2 separate regions of the Homo sapiens genome follow, and region 1 is linked to region 2. The links are contacts of gene promoters, found by promoter capture Hi-C in blood cells and fetal thymus (Javierre and others, 2016). All regions are on one chromosome and are shown on one strand. The core of a region is centred on a gene start or on the middle of the fragment in contact, and the rest is flanking DNA. Distances in the headings are between cores, read along the strand shown.

Region 1 (6,566 bases), core at 253-2,752, 350 kb before region 2:
ACAACCTACTCATCTGACAAAGAGCTAATATCCAGAATCTACAATGAACTCAAACAAATGTACAAGAAAAAAACAACCCCATCAAAGAGTGGGCAAAGGACATGAACAGACACTTCTCAAAAGAAGATATTTATGCAGCCAAAAAAACACATGAAAAAATGCTCACCATCACCGACCATCAGAGAAATGCAAATCAAAACCGCAATGAGATACCATCTCACACCAGTTAGAATGGCAATCATTAAAAAGTCAGGAAACAACAGGTGCTGGAGAGGATGTGGAGAAATAGGAACACTTTTACACTGTTGGTGGGACTGTAAACTAGTTCAACCATTGTGGAAGTCAGTGTGGCGATTCCTCAGGGATCTAGAACTGGAAATACCATTTGACCCAGCCATCCCATTACTGGGTATATACCCAAAGGACTATAAATCATGCTGCTATAAAGACACATGCACACGTATGTTTATTGTGGCACTATTCACAATAGCAAAGACTTGGAACCAACCCAAATGTCCAACAATGATAGACTGGATTAAGAAAATGTGGCACATATACACCATGGAATACTATGCAGCCATAAAAAATGATGAGTTCATGTCCTTTGTAGGGACATGGATGAAATTGGAAATCATCATTCTCAGTAAACTATCGCAAGAACAAAAAACCAAACACCACATATTCTCACTCAGGTGGGAACTGAACAATGAGAACACATGGACACAGGAAGGGGAACATCACACTCTGGGGACTGTTGTGGGGTGGGGGGAGGGGGGGATAGCATTGGGAGATATACCTAATGCTAGATGATGAGTTAGTGGGTGCAGTGCACCAGCATGGCACATGTATACATATGTAACTAACCTGCACATTGTGCACATGTACCCTAAAACTTAAAGTATAATAATAATAAAAAAAAGGAAAAAGGAGAAAAACAGTTTAAGGGGCAAAAAGGGGGGAGATTCTGGGGGAAGAACCCCTTGCTTAGTGCAACTGCGTCCCTCTAATTCTTATAACTTTCCCATCCTTTCCCCAGTTCAGACCAGGTTGAATTCCTTGGCCAGGGGAGGAAAGGTTCCCTTGGCACACTTGACCAACGCGCTCCCTGTAGGGTCCCGGCTACCCCCTCGGCTTCCTCCCGCCCGGTTCGTGGCTGTTGGGCTTGGCCTTTGCCTGCCGTGGGCACGCCCAGGTGCCCGAGCTGGGAAGGGGAAGAATAAGGAGAGGTGCCCAGAGCCGTGTGTGCCTGCGGCTCTCGAGGTAGAGGCATACATGGCACCTCTAGGAAAAATTGGTCTGATTTGCACCTTTGGCGGCTGAGCCAAATACTCATTCTACTTAGTAACATTGCCGCAGCCTGTAGCAAAACTCTTAACATTATAAAGGAGATAAGAGCCATTTTTAAACCGTGTGAGAGAGAAAAAAGAGATGAAAGGAAAACAGCCTCTTACCCACAAGAAAGACAGGTGGTAGGGTTTTCGAAGGCAGACATTCACCTTCCGAGATTCCAGATGAGGCCCCAGTTAAAAGAGGAAAAGTTCCTTTGTCCCCCTCGCAGTGTGCGATGGGAGTGTGGCTCACTTCTTCAGTGCCCCGCAGCTCAAACCTCTAGGGGAGCATACACTCAGGCAGGCTCCCACCCCACGGCAGTGCCCAGGGGTGAATGTTTACAGCTGAAGCCTGTGTTCCAGGGTGCCCTTAGTTTTGGCGTCTGTAGGCAGCTTGTGTTAACCAGGTCAATGAGTACCTCAAGTAGAGGTACTTGTGGAAAGGACCGAGGCCTTTCTGTATCCTGGGTTCTTGCCTGGGTGTACCAGAAGAATCGGATCACACGGGGGCTTGGAGAACGAGTGCAAAGTGTTATTGAGTGGAAGCAGCTCTCAGCCGACGGAGGAGCCACAAGGGAGATGGTTTATCTCCTGGAGTTGAGCTGCTTAGTGGCCTAGCTCTCCTCCGACTGCCCCGGCCAAACTCCGCCTGGTCCTGCCGCTCGGTGGCCTGCCGGCGTCTGTGGTGTGCTCTTCCGCCGGCATGCTCCCTTGACGTCCTCTCCACGTCCAGCCGCTTGTTTTCTTCCACTGATGCGTTCCTCTCAGCATCCAGCAGTTTCTGCCTCTGCCCTGCTAGGGTCTCGGGTTTTTATAGGCTCAGAATGGGGGCATGGCGGGCCAGGGTGGTCTTGGAAAATGCAACATTGGGGCAAGAAGGCAGAAGTGCCTGTCCTCACCCAGGTCCGGGGGGGTGGAGCCCTAGCCGGGGACCACGCCCCCCTCTACCCAGCACCTCCCTTCTGTATCATTTAAAGGGACCACACTCTTCCCTTCCCCCGCACTCCCGTATCATTGCCGTGTGCCGCGCTCTCCGCTAGGTGGAGATGACAAAAATGAACCAGAGGCCCTGCCCTTAAGGATCTGTATTTGGGTAGAAAGTGATTTGTTAAGAGAGAGATTACAGATTTGGGATTGGTAAACTATGCCCTGGCTGACAAACAAAAGGGGTTCCCCATGGCTGAGGTGCTCAAATTTAAAACATAACCTGGTGCCCAGGGCTGGGTGAGGGAGTGGCCACGAACTCTGTGTTCTCAGACTCTGTAAACGCACCACAGGGCCCCCCTTTTCACAACGAAGCCCAATCAGTCCCCGTTGTTAGTGCCAAGATAAACTGTAGCCAGAGCGGCCCCCACCCTCCTCCCCGCCCGCACGCCCCCCACGCCCCGCACGCCCCGCACGCCCCGCACGCCCCTCACGCCCGCACGCCCCTCACGCCCCGCACGCCCCTCACGCCCCTCACGCCCCTCACGCCCCTCACGCCCGCACGCCCCTCACGCCCCTCACGCCCCGCACGCCCCTCACGCCCCCGACGCCCCGCACGCCCCTCACGCCCCCCACCACTGTTTGAAAGAAACAGCTAACAAAGACTTCCGGTTCGCGGCTTGGAAACCAACCCATCAGGGCCCAGCTGTACCAACCAATCAGAACTAAGCACGTTTCAATCCTTCATTTGCCTACATGGACCTAATGGGGACCCCAGGGCAGGAGCTTTTTGCTCTAAAACCCGAACTCCTTCTTTGCTCTTTGAACACACCTTCATTTTACACCAAAGTCCGCATCTCCCAGGCTTGTACACTATTCACTGGAATAGTCTGTTTCCTCCAAATTCCTTTTCAGAGACCTTTTTGTTAAGAGTTGAGAAGTAGGAGCAGTTATTTCTAGGAAATCTGTCTGCGGGCCGTAGACTGAGCTGAATGCCTGAAAAGGAAACAGTGGGGGGCAGTACTGGTAGAGGTAAATTTACTAGCGCTAGCAGAGGTAGATTTACTAGTACTAGTAGAGGTAGATTTACTAGCACTCACAGAGGTAGGTTTAACCACATCACAAGTGGTCTTGGATGATGGGCCAGGGATTTGTGACTTAATTAAGCACAGGAGTAATCAAAGCTTTTGAGCAGGGGGCACCAAAATCGTCTGGCTGTAAATAGATCCTGAAATTTGGAATCTCATTTTTGAGAATGAATTTGGAATGTGGGTGGATTCAAGGATGATCTGAGGACGTGTGAAAGGACACAGCCTTGCTGGCCACCCTCCCGATGACGTGTTTGCTGCTTCTCACTCTGACTTCAGTGAGCATGGAGAGCTTCACACACGCACATGGGAAACGGTAATTTTCCCTAACTCATCCCTGTGGCCAGGGCAGCCTCAGACACTTAAGAAATCTAGACAACACTTCTAACTAAAATGCCAAGAGAAATTCTACATGGCTGAAAGCGGGGAGCTAGCCATCCCAGCCCAGAGATGTTTCTTCCTAAGAGGAGGCGCACTGATGCAGAAACCTGTAACATGCTGTGGTGACCGGAAGAACGGAGCCCCCCACCCGCACCTGCTGTGGGGGAGGGTGGTTTGTGGCAGACCACCAAGCTCTGCCAATCTCGGTTCAAGTCTGGGCATTGCCACTAATTTGCTTTGTTCAAAGTCACTTGTCTTCTCTGGGCCCGAGTCTCTGGGTCTGTAAACTGGGAAGAAAGACTGGGTGGTCTCCAAAGTCCCTTTGAGGGCAGCCACTGTGTGGGCTCGTGGGACTGAGTGAGACGGCTGAGAGCGCTGGCGTGTCCAGGCTGACGAGCCCCAGGGTCCTCTCCCCTCCCACTGGTGCCGAGGGAGGCACCGCAACGAGCTGCACTTTTGCTCACAACCCTGGCCCGGTCTCATGGCCTGAGTTCAAGTCCTGGACCTTGTGAGAAACAAACTCACCTGTCCACACCCAGAGAATGGACTCACAACCCAGAGAACAGCGAGAGTGAGACTTTTAATGACAGTCTTGCGAGGTCGGGTGTCCGATGGGAAGGCACGCCCAGCCCGGTTTTGTTGTTGTTGCTGTTGTTTTGAGATGGGGTCTTTCTCTGTCGCCCAGGCTGGAGTGCGGTGGCAGGATCTCGGCTCACTGTAACTCTGCCTCCCGAGTCCAAGTGATCCTCCTGCCTCAGCCTCCTGAGTAGCTGGGATCACAGGCACTCACCACCACGCCTGGCTAATTTTCGTGTTTTCAATAGAGATGGGGTTTTACCAGGTTGGCCAGGCTGGTGTCAAACTCCTGACCCCAAGTGATCCGCCTGCCTCACGTCGGCCTCCTAAAGTGCTGGGATTACAGGCGTGAGCCACTGCACCAGCCTCCAGCATGGTTTTAACAAGCACTTTATCCCTTAGTGTGCAGGTCCCTCCCCCAGTTCCTCATAGGCTGAGCACTATGGGGTCACAGTCTTCCCAGATGTCACCTATTGGTTGTTGGGCAGGGGCTGTAGGTGTCTTTTTAGGGTTGTCTTGCTGCATTTTGTTGCAGCCCACAGTGCATTGCAATCCTAGTTAGCCCTGGGGCTCTTTAAATATTTGACTTATGACCTACGTAGCTGGCAGGCTGATAAGAACAGACAAAGCCAGCTATTTTGCAGACTGGTAAACTTTTATCTTAGACTAAACTTCTTTGGTTCAGGTGAGGGCAACTAAGGGGGATCCCGATAAGCAGGCATCGGCTGTCTGAGCAGGGGCCTGGGATATCCTGTTTCTTCTGTATTTTGCAGACCTAAGCCGATTCAAGGCACTTTGTCTTGGAAATGGACCACCGTAGACATGATCCCCTTCAGCCCTGTTGTAGGTTAGCAATGTGAACTTGGGCAAGTCATTAGCCTCCCTGAACCTCTGTTGCCTTTTCTGAGAAATAAATAAATGAATGTGTCAATGCCCTCCAGCCCGAGAAAAATAGAGGGATAAAAACGAAAAAGTCGAGGGAGCTGGCTTCCCGTAAGTATGACACTATCACTATCACTATCAGGCTAAGCAGGTTCCCTTTGCAAAAGGAAGTAAGAAAAGTTAGATACAGAAAAACAGATTTTGACATACACACTCAAAAGCTAGTGGCATTATACTGTTTTTGACAATAGCTTAGGCCTTTGACTGTTTTATCAGCTATATAACAAAGCACAGCGCTTATTAACCCCAGAAGTGTGGAAAGGAAGAACAAAGGAAGAAGCAGCTGTGTCTCATCTTGAATTGTAAGCCCCATAATCCCCATAATCCTCATGTGTCACAGGAGAGACCAGGTGGAGGTGAATGGATGATGGGGTGGTCCCCCCATGCTGTTTTCATGCACGGGAGAGACCAGGTGGAGGTGACTGGATGGTGGGGTGGTCCCCCCATGCTGTTCCCATGCACGGGAGAGACCAGGTGGAGGTGACTGGATGATGGGGTGGTCCCCCCATGCTGTTCCCATGCACGGGAGAGACCAGGTGGAGGTGACTGGATGATGGGGTGGTCCCCCCATGCTGTTCTCATGCACGGGAGAGACCAGGTGGAGGTGACTGGATGATGGGGTGGTCCCCCCATGCTGTTCTCATGCACGGGAGAGACCAGGTGGAGGTGACTGGATGATGGGGTGGTCCCCCCATGCTGTTCTCATGCACGAGAGTGACCAGGTGGAGGTGACTGGATGATGGGGTGGTCCCCCCATGCTGTTCCCATGCACGGGAGAGACCAGGTGGAGGTGACTGGATGATGGGGTGGTCCCCCCATGCTGTTCCCATGCACGGGAGAGACCAGGTGGAGGAGACTGGATGATGGGGTGGTCCCCCCATGCTGTTCCCATGCACGGGAGAGACCAGGTGGAGGTGACTGGATGATGGGGTGGTCCCCCCATGCTGTTCCCATGCACGGGAGAGACCAGGTGGAGGTGACTGGATGATGGGGTGGTCCCCCCATGCTGTTCTTGTGACAGTGAGCTCTCAGGAGACCTGGTGGTTTCATACATGCTCAGTAGCTCCTCCTGCGTTGCTTCTCTTTCCTGCCGCCTTCTGAAGAAGGTGCCTTGCTTCCCCTTCCACCGGGATTGTGAGTGTCCCTGGGGCCTTTCCAACCATGCTGAGCTGTGAGTCAATTAAAGCTCTTTCCTTTCTAAATTACCCAGTCTCAAGCAGTTCTTCACAGCAGTGTGAAAATGGACTAATGCAGTGACCACTCCCAGCCTGTTCCTTCTCGGTGCAGGTCCACATCTGGGATTTTAAGACTAACCAGACCCTCCTAG
Region 2 (6,775 bases), core at 1,769-4,268:
GGGGTCCCCACTGGTGAGAAGCACAGCCCCAGGAGGCAGCTATGGCTTCTTCCTCGAATCTCCAGCTCCGACCTCTCGTGGTCCGAGGCCAGTTGGAAGGCACCTTGGAATGGCCTGCACAGGGCTGTCAGGCAGGACAGGCAAGGGAAGGGGATCTCAGGCCACACAGGCCAGAACCACACACACCGCAGTAACAGACATGCTGCTGGGAACCAGCAAAACAGATCTGGAGCCCAGACAGGGGAAGAAGGTGGGCGACCAAGCTGAGAACCACCACCTTTGCTTAAGACCAAGGTATGAGCAGCCTGACTCAGTGGGAAGCGATCCGGTCGCCATTTTCAGTCCTTCTGTGAGTACTGGAAGGAAGGCACTCCTGAGCCTTGGCAGCATTACTTCTGGAACAGCCCGAGCACAGCTGCTCAGAAGGACGTTCATTTGCACACAAGACTTGGTTTAAGCTAAGCCAGCAAAAAAAGGCTGCACCGTGGGAGGTAGACAAGAAGCAAGTTCCAATCCCACCCCCACACCTGCTCTCGCCTTCGGACGGCTGCCCCTTGGTGTGGTCAATCACGTGCATCTGAGGGACGTCAGGAGCAAAGATCTGGACTTCAGCCCCTCCACGGCTCAGGTGCACCAGGATCCTGCACGGGGGAAAACCAGAGACAACTCTTCAAAACGTGCCCCACTCAGATTTGTGTTAACACATTTTTAAAAACAGGATTTTAGCTAAGTACCAGGAGCAAATTCCTAATGTATATTAATATCTTACTTGCTCTGCAAAAAGTTACAGTTGGTTCCATACCAAGCCAAACGTCCCCCACACCCCCATTCCAATTCACTGTCGGTTGGTGGGTTACGACTATGACAAACCCTCAGAAGTGGGCTATGGAGATCAGCTGGTCCCAACAGCTCCCTTTGCAAACTGGGGTATGGGGGCCGGGTGACTCCACTGAGGGCACAGCCTGGAGGCGTGCGGGTCCCCGGCTGCTGAGTGCTCTACCTACACCCAGGGCCTGGCTGCCCTCCTCCAGTTGCTTGCTGCAAGCACCAAGAGTGAGAAGCAGCAGTGTGCTCAGAGTGCCACGTGCACAGACGGTGTGACGGGGCTTTCGGTCACTACTTAGTTCAATTTCTAGTCTCCCTCAACTTTCCCATCACAGATGGTGGGAGAGACACAAGAGACCCCAGGACAACACCACAGGCCAGGCAGCTCCATCTCCCCAAGGGCAAGGGCAACAGAAGCTCCTCCTGGGGACAACAGCTGACATTATGGGGGCTCACGCTGGCATCCGCAACTCCCAGTGCCAACAGGAGATAGGTGGCTAAGCCCACCCACACACTAAGCCCTCACTGCCCCTTACGTGGAGGAGGAAACCGAGGCATGAAGTGCAGTGACTTGCCAGAGGGAGAGGTCAGCACCTGGCCCTGGCACTTGGGTTCCGCTACCCATAAGAAATCCACCCAGACACCCCAGACACAAGACCCTGCCGTTCTGCCTGGGAGGGCTCAAGCTATTCTGGGGCTATTTTCTATCCCACCAAGGCCAAATCATGAAACACATCCTGGCCCTTTCCCCCAGCTCACTCTGCCTAGTGCCAACTCCAACCAGCCAAGGTGGGCCACCCACAAAGCCACCAGCCTCAGGCCACTCTCCATGGCCTGACACCCCTTTCGCCACCACCCAGCTCTCCCCTCTCCAGTTCACCCTGAACCACATGGGAACTACAGGTACCTGGCACGCGTGGTGGCCTCCTGCCCTACTGGTTCGGCCTGCAGTCATTTCCAGTAGCACAGGAAATCAGGCCACCAAGCACTCAGCAACAGCTGACCAGTTACGTAAACAGTAACCTGTCTAGGACCCAGAAATACCACGCAACTGTTAAAATGATGTTGAGAACTGAATGAATGGGAATTACTTCCCATGCGTCAGAAACATTTGCAAAACACGGGTGAGTGTGATCTCAGTGTTTTCAAAATGTGTGTGTCCTGAAAAACACTCAAGTGAAATGCTAAGTCATTTCTAGGCTCTAGGTGACAGCATAAGCGACACTTAAAAACTGTTCTTTCTTAGCGTCTCCCTGGGTTTTGCAAGTCGTTTTTGCTTTTTTTTAGCCAAGAATAGGGTATTTAAAATACAAGCTCTCTCGGCCGGGTGCAGTGGCTCATGCCTGTAATCCCAGCACTTTGGGAGGCCAAAGCGGGAGGATCACTTGAGGTCAGGAGTTTGAGACCAGCCTGGCCAACATGGTGAAACTCCGTATCTACCAAAAATACACAAATTAGTTGGGTGTGGTGGTGCATGCTTGTAGTCCCAGCTACTCGGAAGGCTGAGGCAGGAGAATCGCTTGAACCCAGGAGGCGGAGGCCGCAGTGAGCCAAGATCGCGCCATTGCACTCCAGACTGGGCGCTGTCTCAAAAGACAAAAAGTAAAAATAAAATAAAATACATGCTTTCTCTAAGCTGTTCAAAAAAGAGTAAACTTCACTGGTGGAGAGGCCTTCTCGAGGCCCCCGGGGTGGAGGACCAGCTGCCCCTGAGGACTTACGCCGAGGCCTCGTGGATCTCGGTCCCATCGTAGACTCCGCATCCAGACAGCACCTGCGAGAGGAGCGGGAGCTGACCCGGGGGAAAGGGGCCGACCTGGGCGGCGGGAGTTGACTGGGGGGAAAGGGGCCGACCTGGGCCGCGGGCGCTGACCCGGGAAAATGGGGCCGACCTGGGCCGCAGGAGCTGACTTGGGGTGAAGGAGCCGACGTGGGGCGGCGGGAGCGGACCTAGGAAGAGGGGCCGACCTTGGGCAGAGAACAGCGAAGGCTGATCTCTGGAGGCGGGAGCTGACCTCACCCCCTCCGTCCACTCACCAGCGCGACCCTGGCCGCGGGGCGCGGCACGGAGAGGTGAAGGGCTGCGCGCTGGGAAGGCGTCCGACCGCCGGGGGACAGGGACGTGAATGCAGATGCCGCAGCGAGCCTCGAGGCCACCAGGACCCTCACAGCCGCCATTGCGGTGAGGACAGCGGGGTCGGAAGGTCACGCAGGGACAGAGCGTGCGCACCCACCCCTCTACAAACGCGTTGCTCGTCGGGACTGCGCCTGCGCAGCCTTCTGGGCGGAGCCAAGACCCGCCCCCGTCTCAGCCCTATCCAGTGAGTTCGCCGGTGGGCGGGGGCCGCGCCTGCGCAGAGCCTCCGAATAGAGTTCCGGGAACCCTGTCTTCCTTCCGGTGGTGGCTGAGGGCTCGTGCTCGAGGCTGAGGGATGCTGGTGACTCCCGGGGTCCCCAGCCCCGCCCCCATCGGACGCCTCCACAGGCGGCGCACCCTTTCCGCCATCCGCAGAGCAAGGCTGCCTCGGGGCGGCTCAGTCCGGCGCTTCTTACCTTACCTCCGTCTCATCCTTAACTCACCACGAGCGTCCAGGGTCCACATCCTCCTAAATGGCCACTCGTCTTAATCTCGGCGTCAGGACCCACGCGGGGTCAGGACTACCCCTCCGCTTCCATGACTGTCTCCTCGCGGCTCCGGCTCCCACGGAGCGACCCCTCCGGGTTTTACTGACCCCGGGATGTTGTATCCTGGAAACTGCAGTTCCACCCAGGGGCTTGATCTGGGTTAGTCTGGGGGCAAGTGAGCCGCCGATTCTGTTTGGGTTTTTTTTTTTTTTTTTTTGAGACGGAGTTTCCCTCTTGTTGCCCGGGCTGGAGTGCAATGGCGCGAAGTCGGCTCAACGCAACCTCCGCCTCCCAGGTTCAAGCGACTCTTCTGCCTCAGCCTCCCAAGTAGCTGGGACTACAGGCATGCGCCACCACGCCAGGCTAATTTTGTATTTTTAGTAGAGACGGGGTTTCTCCATGTTGGTCTGGCTGGTCTTGAACTCCCGAGCTCAGGTGATCTGCCCGCCTCGGACTCCCAAAGTGCTGGGATTACAGGCGTGAGCCACCATTCCCGGGCGCTGTTTGGGTTTGTTTTTTTGTTTTTGTTTTTTACGTTCACAGCATGGACGGTCAGTGTGAAGATCCCAGCTGCTCGGGTCCTAGCTGGAATTCTTCCATTAAAAAAATCTGTTTGTTATGCATGGGTTAGTTCACAGAGGAATAGCTGGATAAGTGCTGGCTTTTTCCCCGATTTACCCATTTTCAACCTAATAATGCAGGTTTTTGAAATAATGTGAATGGTTACTGCTGGCGGATGTTCACAGGGACACACCGGATTCTACAGACACATCTGATGATCTAGCCACGGCTGTCACTTTCCCCACTGCCGCGTTGTCCATCACTAGGACTTTACTGCCAATCCTTGCAAGATAGTGGGGAACTAGAATAACAGACATGGGACATTACCAGTTACAACCAAAGACAAGCTTGGCACATTTGACTGTCCTCGTTCCTGCTCCTCCGTGCCTGGCCCTCTTCAGGCTTCTCAGCTCCTGGGGAGCGGCCAGCCAGGGAGCATCAGCTGGTGGGAGCGATGGGGTTGTGGGATGGCACAAAAAAACACCAAGCGCCACTCAGAAAGGAAATGCCGAATGCAGACTCTCACTCAGTCGGTGTGGGGGCCAGGACCCTGTCTCTACCAAGTGTGCGGGAGCTGCCCCTGGCCGGGAGCTCCCAGACCCCACTGCAGAGCCGCAGCTCCAGTTGTCCCAGGGGCGACTACTCAGGTGTCCATCGCCATGCACATGTGACACAGAAAAGGGTGAGGCGAGGAGGGGGAACGCTGGAAATTGTTTCACGGAAAAGGGCGAGGCAAGGGAGGGGAACACTGGAACTTGTGCTTTGGGTAGGCGATAGCTAAGGATTCTCTCTCGTCTGGGTCACGGAGATTGTGCAGCCACAGAACACCTGGTGTCATCAGGGCCTGAGCTCCTCCCTTCTACAAAGACCTCTGGTCTGCAGGCCTGCAGGTACAGTGCTGTGGGCCACAAGGCACTGCCTGTCGTATTCATCTCCACTCTCTAGCACATCTGGCCTCACGCCACCCCCGGGAGGCCGGCAGGCAGATATCAGCTCCACTTCCCAGATAAGCAAGGGAGCCAGGTACTACCCAGGGTCTTGGGGGCCACACCGCTGGCGAGGGACAGGCTGGGCCTGGCAGACAGCACTGGCAGTCGGTGAAGTGCCCACCTCAGTGTCAGCCTCAGGTCCTGACCCTGGAGGCTGCTGTTACTGAGCTGTGGGGACCAGGATGCCCTACCATGATGGAGACCCAAGCCTCTCTCATGATGACTATTCCCAAGGGCACTGCAGAGGGGAGGAGCTGTCTCCTCCTCCGTGTGGCCCACGCAGAGCTGGTGCAGGTCTGAGTGAGCTCACCAAGACAGGCCAATCCCAGCCCCAGACTCCAAAGCATCCCCAAGAGGTCAGGGAGAGGCTCTGTGCCCCTGACCCCAAGGATATGCACAGGTCACAAGGCAGAGCCCCCGCTAGACAGCAGGAGCACCCTGCTCTGTCAGCCTGCTTCCCCAGGACGGAGGCCCTGGTGGTAAGGCAGGCAGGTCTTGAGCCCCCACAAGACAGCAGGATACAACATAACCCTTTTTAATCTGAAGTGTAGACTTCATCCTCACGTTAGAAAACTCCATCTTTTTTTTAATCCCTAAGTTCTTTATCAAACCTTTATGTTAAAGATATAAATAAGTCTCATACAAAGTTCATGTGAATACCTCTCTGAGACGCATTTTCAACATTCATCACCGTTCACACGGCCCCGCTCCTGGGGCCAGGTGCCAGTGCGTGCCGGCCCCTGGCGTGACCCGTCGGCTCGCTGTCCTGATGGGCTACATGTGTGCACAGGAAAAGCAAGTCACTACCACTAGTGACAGTATTTCAGCTGTTCTCTGGACCCCTCCTCTTTGCTGGCCCAGGTGGCACAAGGGTCCCATCTCCCTGGCAGGTCTTAGCCGGCACAATCCAACGCTGCAACCGGCTGGCTCTAGGCCAGCATCTCTTCTTCTGAGTCTCTGCCTCCTCCTCCAAGCAGATGCAGGCTGTCATCTTCAGATGCTTCTGCCTCCTCCTCACTTCCCAGCGGGTCTAGGGAGCGTTTTGTGCCCCGCTGCTTGGAAACTGCTAGTGCGTACTGCATGTTATAGTGGTTCCAGCTACAGCTGTCAATCACACAGGGATGGTCAATGCCAGCAACGCCCAGGCCCTGGCCTGTCCTGCACCCAACCACCTCCTCTGTGACCCCTGAGAAAAGCAGCAGGGGCTGGACATGCCGGTTCCTCCACCCCAGCAGCCATTTTTTTCCTCTTTTCCCTGCCCCAACAATCTGGTTCTGCCCCATCCAGCCCTGGGGCAGCAAAGGCCTTCAAGGACCCAAGGACCCAACTGTAACATCCCATCCCTTTGGGGTCATCCTGGCAGCTCAGCCCTTCCGCTGGGCCCAATCTAGATGGCTTCACCAGCAAGTTCCACCAAACACTTAGGAAGAGACCGCTGCAGAGCTATGTGGTGTTGTGGAGCGAGAGGGGAGGAAGGCACGCTCTGAATCAGTTAATTTTCTGAGTTAATGGAATAAAGGAGAAAAGTGATGCCACCATCACTTTACATAGGAAAGGAGAACTGAAAGATAAATGGATGAGAAAGGAAGGAAGCGCCCCATCGCATCTGCAGGGCACAGGACCCTCTGTGCAGGACTCTTCCTGACAGCCAATGGCAACCCTACAGATTGGCAGTGAACGCCTAGACAGGAGGTCCAAGGAACAATGCACTTACGTGAACTCTAAAAACATCCCATAAGAGGGAATAAATCTAAAGGAGCTGGGCCGGGTATGGT

Evidence for each region. The method cuts DNA at HindIII sites, captures the fragments that hold promoters and counts their contacts. A CHiCAGO score of 5 or more calls a contact.
Region 1: a fragment that was not itself captured here is called in contact with the fragment with the promoter of GATD3 in region 2 in 10 of 17 cell types (naive CD8 T cells, naive B cells, total CD8 T cells and 7 more); the score reaches 9.5 in naive CD8 T cells.

The regions. Positions count from the first base shown.
Region 1 is chr21:44,481,116-44,487,681 of GRCh38, reverse strand. It overlaps LINC02575 (long intergenic non-protein coding RNA 2575), which reads right to left and starts at 2,111. Exons shown (of 2, transcript NR_155204.1): 1 at 1,452-2,111. It overlaps LOC124905037 (a long non-coding RNA gene), which reads right to left and starts at 4,681. Exons shown (of 2, transcript XR_007067904.1): 1 at 4,247-4,681; 2 at 2,983-3,248. The HindIII fragment of the contact is 3,872 bases long and covers 1-3,438 here.
Region 2 is chr21:44,129,926-44,136,700 of GRCh38, reverse strand. It overlaps GATD3 (glutamine amidotransferase class 1 domain containing 3), which reads right to left and starts at 3,018. Exons shown (of 7, transcript NM_004649.8): 1 at 2,863-3,018; 2 at 2,547-2,599; 3 at 528-641. The coding sequence starts at 3,003. It overlaps PWP2 (PWP2 small subunit processome component), which reads right to left. Exons shown (of 21, transcript NM_005049.3): 21 at 5,520-6,104. The coding sequence ends at 5,930. RefSeq lists enhancers at 1,935-2,462, 2,463-2,990, 2,991-3,518. The HindIII fragment of the contact is 13,325 bases long and covers 1-4,360 here.